2 separate regions of the Homo sapiens genome follow, and region 1 is linked to region 2. Evidence: promoter capture Hi-C in human tissues and cell types (Jung and others, 2019). All regions are on one chromosome and are shown on one strand. Each heading gives the region's core, a stretch centred on a gene start or on the middle of the fragment in contact. The rest is flanking DNA. Distances are from core to core; before and after follow the strand shown. Region 1 holds the start of LOC107986254 (a long non-coding RNA gene). Region 2 holds the start of CRMP1 (collapsin response mediator protein 1).

What was found. Contacts are between HindIII fragments. The study calls those that stand out against the background at their distance.
Region 1: a contact is called between a fragment that was not itself captured here and the fragment with the promoter of CRMP1 in region 2, in 1 of the 25 tissues and cell types used here (dorsolateral prefrontal cortex).

The regions. Positions count from the first base shown.
Region 1 is chr4:4,525,074-4,532,278 of GRCh38, forward strand. All of the region lies in intron 1 of STX18 (syntaxin 18), which reads right to left. LOC107986254 (a long non-coding RNA gene) reads right to left here and starts at 4,070. Exons shown (of 2, transcript XR_001741564.2): 1 at 3,376-4,070; 2 at 1,395-2,674. The HindIII fragment of the contact is 4,750 bases long and covers 921-5,670 here.
Region 2 is chr4:5,891,342-5,898,774 of GRCh38, forward strand. It overlaps CRMP1 (collapsin response mediator protein 1), which reads right to left and starts at 1,745. Exons shown (of 14, transcript NM_001014809.3): 1 at 1,248-1,745. The coding sequence starts at 1,628. It also overlaps a transcript of C4orf50 not described here. RefSeq lists an enhancer at 1-350. The HindIII fragment of the contact is 12,427 bases long and covers 1-4,954 here.

The DNA of each region.
Region 1 (7,205 bases), core at 2,046-4,545, 1.4 Mb before region 2:
TATCCTGTGGTACATTTATGAAAAGAATAAAGTTTTATAAAGAGCTAGAAAAAGAAATTTTAAAAGTAACCAATGTTTCTTTTTGAAAAGGCCTTTATGAGAAAAAAGAAAAGACTTTGGGATAATTTAATCTGGAGAAAGCAAATCCTAGAGGCAATTTAACTTGTTGAAGGGTTATTTATAAGGAGGTGACTAAACAGCTGTTCTCCAATTTCACAGGGAAAAGAATGAGAGGAAATTGATTTAAATTTCAGTATGAAGCTCAAGGCAGGCAAAGGAGAAGTGCTTGAGGGAGAACTGTTAATGATGAAAAAAACTAAATGGAAAACTGGATTTTTATGGCTTTTAAAAGATGGAAAATTACCTGTGTTGATTCATTTAGTTTGGGGGTAAAACTACTAAACAAATATTTGAGGTGTGCCTTCTGTTCATTTATTCAAATGCCATGTATGAATCCCTACTATGGGCCAGATGCTCTGCAAGGCACTAGGAATACAAAGACCAAGAAGATATGGTGTCTGTTCTGTCTAAAGGCTGTATTACTGGGTACAAGAGCCACTGTGCTAAATACAAAGAAGCATGAAAATAGAGTCCTGCTCTCTCCTTTTCCATCCCCTGTGCCCAATATAAGCCCACAAATAAACAATATCATTTGAGAGATAACACAATCGCAGCTGAAAGGTTAAGTGACAATGTTATTACTAGATAAAAACACAAAATAATAAGGCAAGGGATGTCACAAGCCATACATATTTCCATAGTAAGAATACAGGCAGCAAATGCTTTCAATTCAAGAGGAGACTAGTATAGGCTAGAATGTGCCTTTCAAGATCAATGGAATTTGAGAAAGTGAAGGAGAGCAAGCAGTCCAGGCAAGAGAAATAGCAGGAGCCAAGGAAGGAGGCAAGAAGCTGAGGGGACTGCTAACAGAGCAGCATGGTGAAAACTGGTGGGATGATGGGGGAAGTGTGGGGTTTAACACTGGAGGTGGGTAGGCTAGCTTTATAAAGACCAAATATCTGAGAATCTTTGCGTGGAGAATGAGCGGTACTGAGCGCTTCTGAGCCAAAGTAATGATGAAAGCAACATCTTCCGTGCAGTGGCTTAGCTTGGAGAGGGACTGAGGGCTCACCGTTACTGTGTCAGCTCAGGCACAAGATGGTAGGAGTCTGAACTCCTATGGTAGCAGCAGAATGGATGAGACGGAGAGAAAGTGCAGGTGCTTATTCACTTAATTGATTTCCAAATACTATGTACTGAACTGTGCTCTGTGCTGTGAGGGGAGTGGAACACAGTGTCTATCTTCTTGGGCTTGGTAATTAACTGGATAGAGGACAGGAAAAGGGAGAATGACAGATGTAACTGCAAAAATGGCAGTCAGGGTGGAGGAGCTCTCTGGTGAGTTCGAATTCCTAAATTTTTATTTACACAAGCTGGAACAACAACAAAACGTCAAAATGTAAACAGGAAAACCAATCCTCCCAATATACGACTTCATGTGCACCATGGAAGATGCTGATTTTATCGCAGTTGAGTCAACGGGAAAGTATAGAAGCAAATATGCTTGTACTGGTTGAACTGTACCAAGTAATGAATATTTGAAAAGACTTCTGAAGCCAGGCATGGTGGTGTACATGCATAATCCCAGCTACTCAGAAGGCTGAGGCAGGAGGACGCTTGAGCCCAAGAGTTTGAGGTCAGCCTGGGCAACATAGTGAGACTCTATCTCCAAAAAAAAAATTGAAAAAATAAAAAAAGGCTTCAAAGATAACAAGTAAGGTATTTTTTTAGGACTGAAATGTTTCCAGATTTCATCTTTTGACATAAGTGAGATATATTCACAGATTTTCAATCATTTACCCACAGATAGGTATTTAGAAGCTTTCAGGAAATTCATCACCTCTCCTTGATAGCTCTTCTTTTTCTTCCTTCTCTTAATTTAATTTTGATTTAACTTCCTCTTGTCATTGCTTGCTTACAAATCACTGCCTCTGTGTCTGGAGCCAATTGGGGCTGTAAAGTACCCCACGACGCCTTCATCTGGGGACCTATTTATATATATTTTCTTATTTCAAGAGGTAGAGCTAGCCTGTAACTCCAAAAGTTTCCAATCAACCATCACATTCTATTCTTTGGAAAAATATGCTTCTCTCCACAGTTAAGATGACATCAAACTACATATTTTGCAAGAATATTTCCTTTCTACCTGTATAAAGATGAATTGTGCTTTGGGAATTCACTCACAAAAAAAGGGTTGAGTGTGGGTAATAAATGCTTAATAGCAATAACATTTTTTAAAACTTTCTACCAGTTAAAATTAAATGTAATTTCCTTATTACTTTAATGGAAACTTTTGGAGTTGAAGTATTTAACTAGTCTCTTTTACATCAAGTGTTCATTATATAATTCCCTTTTAATATTAGGTATGTAAACTGTCCATTGACAGAATAAAAACACACATTTCCACTGAAACAAAAACTGGAGAAGGACAAGGCAGCTTGATTCAGGATCTGATAATGGGTTACAGATTCCATTTCAGTTCAGATTTGCAGTCAACATGCCACAGAGTCATTTACCAGGTCATATTTGGAGGGAAAGTATGAACTGCCACGTCACTGAGAGAAAAATCTGTGTGAGCCTAAAATACTTGACTTTTCCCACTGTAATGCTGAGCCTAAGGAAGAAAGATAGAGAAAAAAATTATATATATATAATTTTATATATATATATGTTTTTATATATATATAATTTTATATATATATGTCTTTATATATATATACACACACACACACACATATATATATATATTAAAAACTACCTTAAATTAAAAGGCAGTGATGATTTGGCCCAAGTTCTGGGCATGGGGAAGACATCCCTTAGCCACTGTCTTTCAGGGTCACCCTGAGTGAGGCTGCAATGCTGCCTTGTCCATTGCTGGCTGGTACTAGCCTACTGGCTAAATCATCCTAACCCCCAGGATGCTAGACTTACACAGCGGAAAAATTCTAGAGCTGGTGGGCAGACACCTAACCTGAGTCATGGGCTGTGGATGCAAAGCTTCTACCCAGTTCCCAAGCCAACTCCTCTTTTCCAGCCTTCCCATCTCCTGCTGGAGCCTCCCATTAGTTGACCCCTATCAGAAGCCAGGGGGCAAGGAAACCCCACTATGCAGCCCATAAAGATCAGCCTCTTGATGTGATCCCCAATATTGGAGGGGGGGCCTGCTGGGAGGTGTTGGATCATGAGGGTTGATCCCTCATGAATGGCTTAGCGCTGTCCCCTTGGTGATAAGTGAATTCTTGCTCAGTTCACACAAGATCTGCTTGTTTAAAAGAGTCTGGGACCTCCCCCTTCTCTCTTCTTGTTCTCTCTCACCATGTGACACTCTTGCTCCCCCTTCACCTCCTGCCATGATTGTGAGCTTCCTGAGGCTTCACAAAAGCAGATGCCGATGCCATGCTTCTCGTACAGTCTGCAGAATCATAAGCCAAAATTAACCTCTTTTCGTTATAAATTACCCAGCTCCAGGTATTCCTTTATGGCAATGCAAAAAATGAACTAATACAGGTTGTGTGGCTAAACTGCATCTTTCGGATTGAGGCCCCCAGGTACTAGGAGAACTGCCTGCTGCTGGCTCACAGCCGAGTGTGTCTCAAGCAGCAGGAAGGTGCCTCACCCAACACTAGGGCCCTTCCCTGGGAGAAGCCCACAGACAATGGCTGGCCAATGCAGTGGTTAAAAAGCCCTGGCCCTTTGCCTCAATTGGGCAATTCTAAAAAGCCATCTCAGCTCCAGAGATCTCCACGGAACTGACCATTTAATGAACAAATAAAATCAAAAACTGGTATCCCAACAACAGAAAAGGGAATTACAATTTTTTTTCAAATGTCTATAATCCATAAATTGGGTCTCCTTCCCTCTCAATGATTTTACTAACTAAAACCACAAATCCTTTTCTCTTTTCCCCAAAAGCAAACCACAACACTTATCTTTAAGAAACGCATGGTTGGCCAGGTATGGTGGCTCACACCTGTAATCCCAGCACTTTCGGAGGCTGAGACGGGCGGATCACGAGGTCAGGAGATCGAGACTATCCTGGCTAACACGGTGAAACCCTGTCTCTACTAAAAATACACAAATTAGCCGGGAATGGTGGCTGGTGCCTGTAGTCCCAGCTGCTCAGGAGGCTGAGGCACGAGAATGGAGTGAACCAGGGAGGCGGAGCTTGCAGTGAATCAAGATCGCGCCACTGCACTCCAGCCTGGGCGAGACTCCGTCTCAAAAAAAAGAAAGAAAAGAAATGCACGGTCACAAGGTAATTGTTGATTAAAAGAAAAAGGTTGGTTTGGAAGCAGCCATATTTCCCCAAAAGTTAGTCAAGCACTTTCAAATATATAATGTATGCACCAAAATATGCTCCTAAAGACAGCAGATGATGTGATAACATACTAAAGAGCAAATCCCCAGAGGCGTGGTCTGTGGAATGCCAAGTGGAGCACAGTTCCCAGCCTGGGACACACTTGCCACAGGACACCTGTGCATGCCCAAGAGCTGGGGAGGCAGCAGGCAACCGGAGAAGCACAGCACACACGTGCCAGGACTACTCATCTCACAGCACCAGGGACGTCATCTTGGGAGATAGCTTACCCTTCTGAACCTCGGTTTCTTCATGAATAAAGGAGCCTAACTTGAAAGGATAGTCAAATAAATTATAAAGCTTTTACCACAGGGCCAGGTACAGTAGGTGCTCAACAAGTGGTAGCCATTATTATCATTTATTATGCTTTAGAATAACAACCAGAAACTAAGACATCAATGCAACATTTGTGGATGATTTTCTCATATAGATTAAGAAAGTCTGGATTGGAAATCCAGCTGAGTTACAGGAAAATTACTCCCTTTACAAAAGATTTTACCACAGACTTCCTTTAAATAGCCCCCACCCCTCCACTGCACATTTAATATAGAATTAGATATTGCTTGCTCATAACATTTTTCTAATCAAAAGCTATTAATTCTCCATTTCCTACCACAGCAAATAAAAACTCATCTGCCAGGAGTTTTACTTGTTCTGTTTTGCTTTTCATTTCAAAAGTAAATGTGCTCATTAAAGAAATTCTGGATGATAGAAGCAGAAAAATAAATCACCCAAGTCCCATCACTCAGAAAAAGCCATGGTTAACATTTTGGTGAGTTCCCTTCCAGTCATTTCCATGCCTAGAGTTTTTTGGGTTTGCATACATAGTTTTAATTGTAATTGGTTTGGGTAGTTATTTTTTTAAGCTAACATAATAATATAAGCATATATTAATTATATATAATAATATATAATTCTCATGTCATGACATACTCTTCAGTATGTCACATTTACCTAACAATTTCTCTATACTTGGGAATAATGCTGTAGTGTCTCTATGTAAGGTACTTGTGACAGCTGCCATCACCATCATCATCAAAATCATTATTATTGTATTATTAAGGCTGCTGCTGTTCTGTGAACATTTCTAAGGCTTTGTGAAAAAAAGAAAAGAAAAGAAACACTGCTGCTGCAAACTTTGTTTTGTTTTGTTTTTCCTAGCTGGAGTGCAATAGCACAATCTTGGATCACTGCAACCTCTGCTTCCCGGGTTCAAGCAATCCTCCCACCTCAGCCTCCCGGGTAGCTGAGATTACAGGTGTGTGCCAAAGCGGCAGGCTAATTTTTGTATTTTTTTATAGCGATGAGATTTTGCCATGTTGCCCAGGCTGGTCTTGAATTCCTAAGCTCAAGCGATCCACCCACCTCAGCCTCCCAAAGTACTGGGATTACAGGCATGAGCCACCATACCCGGTCAAACTTTTAAAACTCAGAAAGACTTCCCACTTCTACAAAGTATGTCAACATTCATCTTCATTTTCTTCAGTTTTGTTTTTACAGTTAAATCTTTAGTCCATCTAGAAATTTATTTTAATGTATGTATGAAACAAGGAACTAAAAATTTATTTTTTTCCCAAAGTGCTAACCAATTACCGCCAATCACTGAATAAATCTTCCTTTTCTTACTGATTTACAACACATCCTTTGGCATGGATAAAATTTACACACACACACACACACACACACCCTGGACTAATGGGTTTCACTAAAAAATTCATATATGCATATATTATTTTTTGGTGTAAAATGTTTTGGTATATATGCTGCCAAAGTGAGCATTAAAGTAATAATTGCTGTGTTGACAACACTTTTTCTTCACTTCCAGGTACACAATACGTGTTTCTATTTATCCAAATCTTCTGTATCTGTCTACAAAATTTTGCAGTTTGCTTCAACTAGGTCATTTACATTTCTTTTTAAGGTTATTACTAGAAACTCTTTTTGTTGCTACTATAAATGTTTCGTTATATTCTAAATGGTTATTAATTAAATATAGGATCGCCATTGATGTTTGCCCACTAATGTTATACAATGGCTCTCGAGGCCTCTGTAATCAGGCCACAGCACCTCCCCGTTTCACACTGCTGAGTAAGAAGCCCCCACTGGCCTTGTTACGCTGGTTTCCTTACTGTCACTGAGCACACCAGGCTCATGTTCACCATCCATCCACTTGACTTGCTCTTCAAGGATCTGCTCCCAGGTCAAAGCTTTCCTAAGTAGACTGCCTCTAATTACATGCCTTTTTCTATACTCATCCAGAACTGGTAATAAGTCCTAAAACATTTAATACTTTCAAATAATATAGCAATAATTTTCCTTTTATCAATACTAGAACATTCAATTTTTTACATTTGAGAAAAGATTAAACAAAAAACAAACTACATTTTTTGTCTTTTTAAGAGGCTATGATAAATTTGAAACAAATTTGGTAAAAATATACTGTTTGCTTAAAATACTAATAAACTAGAAGCAGCCTAAATAGCTTTCAACAGGGGTTCAGATAAATCAATTATTTATTACTATTTTTAATAGCTATGCAGCCAAATAAACTGGTGGTAAGAGCAATACATACTGATATTTAAAAATTTCCAAAATACATTGTTTTCTACAATACTGTTATGTAACCCCTCTCTACTCCCCCAAGGAAGAGGGGAGGGCATATGGAGAGGGATTACATAACCGTATTGTAGAAGAATCTTGATTTTATTTAACAGAAAAAATGTTTGGAAAGTTAAACACCAGAATTTTAACTATGGCTATTTCCTGACACTGGTACTAAATGTGAACT
Region 2 (7,433 bases), core at 495-2,994:
CTATTCCTCCAGGAAGCCCTCCCAGATATCTGCCCCGATCAAGCTCTGCTTCCCTCCAGGCTCACTTTGGGTCACTCATAGCATTTAAGAGGGGAAGGTTTAATTAAAATGATAATGATTGTAATAAAAGTCAACAACAAACATTTATTGAATGCTCACTACCGACCGGCATTAACTGATTTAATTCTCACAATGAATCCGTCGCTCACCCTAGCCTGGGAACTTCTGGAGGGTGGGGCCAGGTTGCTGAGCCAGGGACCTAGCGCCTACCCTGGGCCTGGCACCTAGCAGTTCTCCGGCATCCAGGTCTGGACCAATTCGAAAGCTCCCCAGCCCTCGGATGCTCCAACTTCCGTTTTTCTGGCACCTGACCCTGGCTCTCGTCGGTCCATCCAAAGGCTACGCCGTCCATCCGCCCTTCTTCCCCCAGTTTCCTGGTGACCCCCAGCTCAAGAGAGAATACCCGCAGGGCCCAAGCCCTAGCGTTCCCTCTCCCTGATCCTCCCGGCCCCATGCTCAGGTCCGGGAGGCCAGAGACCCCAGTTCAAATCCCAGCTCTACCTCCACCTTGCTCTGTGAAGCAGGCACATCGGTGTGTGCTGTGGAGCTCAGGAGTGCCCCTTGAATCTACTGGCGCTTGAGGGTAGGGGTTTACGGCTCCAACTGCCCGACGAACTAAATCCTTAACCAAATCCTTCCCCCCAGCAAGCATGAGGGGAGCGCTCGGAAAAAAAGCTCCTTCCAGCTTTAAGCTGTGTGGCCGCAGGCGACTCGCGGAACCTCTCCCGGGGCCCGGCACACAGTAGGTGCTCTATAATTACTACCGACTGAGTGGATGGATGAATGGACCAACACGGAACGGAGCTCCAGTTCTTTTCACAAAACAGAATGAGGGGCCTGGGTTAGATTCATCCCAGAGGTTCCTTCGCGTTTAAGCGTCCATGCGGTAGCTTTAGCCAACTTCCCCTCTCAGAACCTCTCTCCCTTTCTGTAGAAGAGGAGCCGGGACTGGACCCGGGCGATCCCTTCCGAGTCTCACGGACCACGCCGGCCAGCCCCGACCGAGTCGCCCCAGCTCTGGGAACCTCTTGCATGATGAGGTGGGGGAGGGGCCGCGCCGTGGCTCTCCCCAGCCTGGCGGCCGCTGCCCCAACACCGGGGCCCGGGCATGGCCCTCGGGCGCCCCATGCCCTGGGTCCTCCCGGGGCCCGCCCCCCTCGTCTGGCCCGCGCGCGCCCCGAGGGTACCTGGCCATTGTCCCGGCCGAGGGGCAGGTCGCGGGGCGCGGGGCGGCGGATGCGCAGCGTCGGCGGCCGCTCGTCGCGCTCTCCGGGAGAGCTGACCGCGGAGCCCGAGGGCTCGCTCACGTCGCTGGCCGTGTCCTCGCTGCCTCCCGGCCCTGGCAGCCCGACCGCGTCGGGCCGGCCAGCGCTGCGCGGCGTGCGCGCCGAGCCGCGGCGGCCCACACTGTAGGCGTCGAAGTCGATGGTCTTGTTCTCGTAGGCGCCCTCCACCGCGGCGAACATGCCGCCGTACTTCTGGCGCGGGGTCTGCGCCGCGCTGCCCGGCCGCGCCAGGTACACGGGCAGGTCGTCCTCGGTGTTCCACGCGCGCCGCCGGTCCGCCATACCCGTCCAAGGCCGGCCACCCACCGCGCTCCCGCCTGCCCGCCCGCGGCCCTGGGCACCGCCGTGCGCCGCGCTCCGCGCCTCGGTGCGGGCCTGCGGCGGCCCGGGCGCGACTGCGGCCCAGGGAGGGGAGGGGCGGGGCGTGGCGCGCGCCGGGGCGGGGCCGGGGCGGGGCCTCTGGGCGGCTGCGGGCTAGCGGCGCGGCCAGCTACAAAGGACCAGGAGGCGGGGATCGCGGCTGGGGCGGGGAGGGACGGTGACGCTCCCGAGCCGCAGCGCGGAGGGCGGGCCGCGGCACCGCAGTGCCCTCGCCGCACCCCCCACTCTCCGCCCCCAGGCGGAGCGCAGGGCGCGAGGAGAGCGCGGGGCAGGAGCCGTGTGCGTACACTCGCGCGCCCACACGCTCTGGAGGCACACGCGGGTTCATACCTGCACACCAGACAATTACGCCAAACACATGAGAGATGCACAGACATGCTGGCACACACACGAGAGTCAATCACACATGCTCTCCAGAGATACACAGGGGCTCGATCATGCACACCATACTCAATGTTGCACACACATACACATATATGCTTGTGCACATTCCGAGTTCATTACAAACACACAACAGAAATCCTCATTGTCTCACAACCCCACTCACACACAGTATCACACCAAGATTAATTGCACAACTGGAGAGGCACATGCGTTGGACACACCGTTCATTCCGTCAGTTTTATTTTGCTGAGCGCCCACTAGTGCCTAGCACTGTTGTAGGAGCTGGGAACAGAGCCATGGACAAAAGAGACCAAGTGCCTGCCCTCCAGGAGCTGACCTGCTAAGGAGGGGAATTGGATACAAAAGCACCCATATGGTGGGCCAAGAGGTGGTAAGGGCCAGGAAAGGTGGTGCAGCAGCCAAGAGGGACATGCTAGAGGCACACTCCGACAGACACATAAGAGAAGCACATTCTTGCATGAGAATCAGCGACACACACATACACGTGCACGCCAATGACACCACACAACACACCAATATCAAAGGCAAGCTCAGGGCGATTCCACACATGTGCATCATAAACTGGCAACAGGATGCCCACACACAAGTCCACACCAGTAATAAAGGAAGTCAAAAGCTTAAATAAAAACGCTCCAGAGAAAGACACACAGAGACAGAGATGACCACACACACACAGCTGGCAGTCAACCAGACAGACAGATATTCCCTCATTCGAGGGGCACAGTCCACTTTTGTTGCTCCTGGAGCTTGCAGTCTGGGCGTTCTGGGGTTTCTCTGTCGTGGAGGTCGCTCTGCTGGGGCTCTCCTCTAAGGCCAGGCACCACCTGCCTCCTATAGACACCTTCCCTTATTTCTCCACGATTATCAGGCAGAGGATCCTGCAAGTCCCTGGGGACCCTACAGTCCCAGCTGCACTTCCTGGAGAGGCAGAATCGCCAGCTGCCGACCCCCTCCTCGAGCCAGTCTAGACAAGCAAAGTCAGGACTGGGTGGGGACTGCAGAGGGGAGCATCAGTGCTTCTTGCAATGTCCCCCCACCCATAGCCTTCCATGCTGGGAGCTGTCCCTTCAACCCCGGGCCCTGCCAGCTGCAAGCCAGAGCTCCCGCAGCGTGACCAAGCTCCAGGAATACCAGACAGACAGATGGATTCATGTTCTTGTTTTATGACTCTTGGGCCCCATGGACTGAGGATCCTGGGGCCGTCGGATCCGTGGCCTCAGCTGACACCTCCCTGAAGCTACTGTCTTTCAACCCTGCAACAAGGGGTCTGTGCAGCAGGTAGGTATTTTTACCGGCCCCCTCTTGGAAGAGGAAACAGGAGGGGAGATGTGAAATGGCTCCCTCAGGGCCTCAATCTCAAGGAGGTTCAGCCAGGCCTAGAGCGTGGGCTCATCCACTCGGTGGGCATTTAGCAAGTTATTTTTCTGTGCTTGAGAGAGAGGCTAGTGTGGGGACACAGATGAGTATTTCTAAGTCTCTGTCTTCAACAAGTGTTTACTCTCATGGGGGAGAGAGTGCTGAATGCGAGAACAGAAAGTTCCACACACAGCCTCCATCTACCTTCCACCCACCGCAGCTGCATCCTGGCTCCTCTCTCCTTGTGTCCCTGGGTCCACTGTGCAGATTTGCCACAGACACTCCTCTTGAGGCCCATCAGCCTCCAGGCTATCTTGCAAGTGTTTTCGATTTTTCAATGAAAATTTTTCTCTGTCCTGTGAAATACTATTCCCAGCCCATTCCAGGCAAGAACAATTCATGTCGAAAACCACATAGAAATTTCTTCTAAAACCCCACAAATGTTCAGGGTGACATAACCCAGAGAAATATCAGAAAACTCAAAAGTCTGAGTTAGGTGGAACTTTGGAGGCCAGGCCTCCTACTGCATGCTTGAATCTGCTCTCAACATCTTGAGGACACAGTCTCTCAGGCTTTGTTGGTGGTGATGGAAATCTTACTGCTTCTAAAGAAAACCCTTTCCATTGTGAGAAAGGGCTGGGCAGTTGCCAAGACTAGAGGGAGTGACGCAAGGAAGGAGCTGAGAAAGTGCTGTCTTTATGCAGAAGCAGGAAAGGATCTTCATAGCTTCTGCTTATAGAAAGTTTACTACGTGCCCGGACCATGGTAAGCACCTAACAGATAGTAACTCTTTTATGCCTCGCAGCAACCTTGAAACTGCCATTTTAGCCTCATTTTACAGATGAGAAAACTGAGGTTCAGAGACATAAATAACCTGTCCAGGGTCACAGCTGGCAAGTAAGACTTCGAGGTTTAAACAGAGTAGTCTGGTGCCAGAGTCCACATCGAAACAACTACCCTTTCCTCTCCCCAAGAGCCTGACTGAGGTGGTCCCACTGGGAGATAAGAGATAAAGGGACCTAGTTTAGGCAGAAGAGTCTAGGTGGTTGAGTTAGAATCCTGTTTTGCATGCAGTCTTGGGCAACTAATCATTCGACATTCATCTAACACACCTTTGTGGCGCCCACTGCGTGTCACTGACTTTATATCACTTCCTCTCACTCTTTTCTCCCCATGCAGAGGAGGCGATCGGACCCTCCTGAAACTGCATACTGTGTATAAGGGTCCTTGCACACACAGTTCATTTCCGTGCATCATGCTCTGCCTTATACACTGCTGGCTCCCTCAGGCAGCCCCACGTGGCGAACCAGGCCACTTCCATCTTCAGGCTGGAGCGCTGAGGATGACAAACCTTAAGCCCATTGCTCAGGTTAACCACCGGGAAGTGACTAACCTGGGATTTCAACTCAGGTTTGTCTGAGTTTTTTCCACACCATCTCATCTCAAGGTCAGTAACCCAAGCGCAACAGAGAAAGGGAGGAAGGAAACAAAACCCAGGGTATAAAGTTGGAAATGCACCCTCCAGCTTGCACGGAGACAGAAAGGAGCAATATTTGCCAGGGACCAACAGAGGCAGCAGGGGAAGCCTGAGATAACTGCCCCCATCCTGACGACAGCTGTGACCTCCCCCATCCCCCAACCCATCCTCCAACTGCTCCTAGTCCTCCTGGGAAGGAGTTCTTATAAGTGAATTACAGCACTACATTTGGTGAAGGACAAACCTTGAGCTCATCATGTCAGACATGAAACCTTCTTCCTGGGTGATGGCAGAGAACAGAAAGGGACACGTCAGATGGGAGAGGACAAGAGGCCAGTTCAGGTCCGATGTGGATTTTGTTTCGGCAAACCAAAAAAAAAAAAAAAATTCGTTCATTCATTGCAAAAAGAATGTTTTCAAAAAATGAAGGAAAGGGGATTGTAGTTTATCATCAGGTATATAGTAATGGATTATTGTCCTCATCTCAGATATAAGAAAAGATGTTCAGAGAAGTTAAACAAGTAAACATGTTCGGTTACATGGCCAGCAAGTGACAGAGATGCAGTTCAAATCCAGGCTCATTTGATTTTTAAATGTCTGCTTTTTTCTGTGGCCTCCAAATTAGTACATATGGGACTGTGGTGGGCAGAATAATGATGCTCAAAGATGCCCACACCTGAATCCCTAGAACTACTGCCCATGTTACTCCACATGGCAAATGGGACTCTGTGGCTCTGCTTACAGATCTTAAGATGTGGAGATGATCCTGGATCACCTGGTGGAGCCAGTGTCATCACAAGAGTCCTTTTAAGTGAGAGAGAGGCAGGAAAGTCGGAGTCTGAGAACGGGAGATCAGAGAACAGAAGCAGAGGTCAGAGTGAGAGAGATTTGAAGAGGAAGGAAGGGGCCACAAGCCAAAGAATGTGGGCAACTCCAGGAGCCAGAAAAGGCAAGGAAACACTTTCTCCCTGGAGCCTCCAGAAGGAAGGCAGCCCTGCCAACATCTCGGTTGTAGCCCAGGGACTCTGACTTTCAGAACTACAAGATAATGAATGTGAGTTGTTCTAAGGCAATGGGTTCATGGTCATCTGTCAAAGCAGCAATCAGAAATCACTACATGATTATAAAGGAAATCATTTAATTATTTGTGCAAAGTGGATTTGAGTACCAAGAAAAGCATTTATTCCCCACCAAAAATCAAGGGAATCCTAGCTCCATTGCCTTTTTCTGTTACGTCAGGGTCGACAACACTTTGTAACAAACCATCAATAAATAAAACATTCAGAAGGGAAAAAAACCCTTTAATTGTGAAAAAGCATACATTTTAATGTACAAAATTACACAAATTATACATTTAACTCACATAGAAAAATACATCTCAGTAACAAGAGAAAATGCCGGCCTATTTTACACAAATGGAGCGATCATTACAAATCCTGAAAACCCAGAGGGAGGGTTGAGCCCGACCCACAACTGGTCAGGAATCCAGTGAACATCTCCACGGACTGATGGTTTCACTGCAGGCAGGCCCCGGAGGATAGCTGCCCCAGGACCCGAGGCAGGTCCTGCTGAAGAGCTTCCGGAGGGGAGGTGTCGGGTCCTGTCGCTGGACCACTCCCGTGTGAACCAAGGCAGCTCACTCCGGGGAGGGGCAGGACTTGGCCTGCCAACATTCTCAGCCTTGAGTTTATGAATGAGGGCGCATAGGAGACCTTGTAGATTCATGCAACCGCAAGGTGTACAGTTATTGTGCATTTGGGATTCAGCGGGAAAGTACACAATTTCTAAACTGATGTCTGTGCTTCACAGCTTTCATGTGATTTCTGCCCAGGATTCAACCTGGAAGAACTAAGGAGTCCACAGAGGTTCTACCAAAGTGAACTTGCCAGCCTCGCTTATCACTCTGCCAATGACACTCATGCCTCTTCCCTGCCTCACCTGCAAAAGCTGGTTGTGCAAACCCGAACTGTGGAAGAGATCATCTTATTCCCCCAACTCAGGTTGGTAGGATAGACCCCAGCCTCCCACCAAAATGTGTTTGTGCAGAGCCCATTTTCAAAGGGGTGAGGGAAGGCTCCCAACATCCACTGACATGCTGAGTGCTTTAAGAAGCGTGCTATTTCTTTAATCTTCACACCTTACCCACTGTTTCCATGGAGGACTTTGAGGTTAAGAGAGGTAGGTACCCTGTCCAAGCTTGCACAGTTAGTCGGCAGCAGAGCCGTCGCGTGTCTGGCCCCAAAACTCACTCTCCTACTGCTGTTAGGTACAGACCTTGTCCTTTTCCACTAAAGAATTAATGGCTATAACGTCACTGCATAGACATTTATTTCCCCCATCACTTTCAATGTCCTATCTACAAATATTGTATTACACGACTTTAAAAAGAAAATACTGACTCAAAGTTAGTATCAAGTTTTCAGCCATTTTTAACAATCCCATTAATTTGTCTCTCTCCTCCCTTGTTC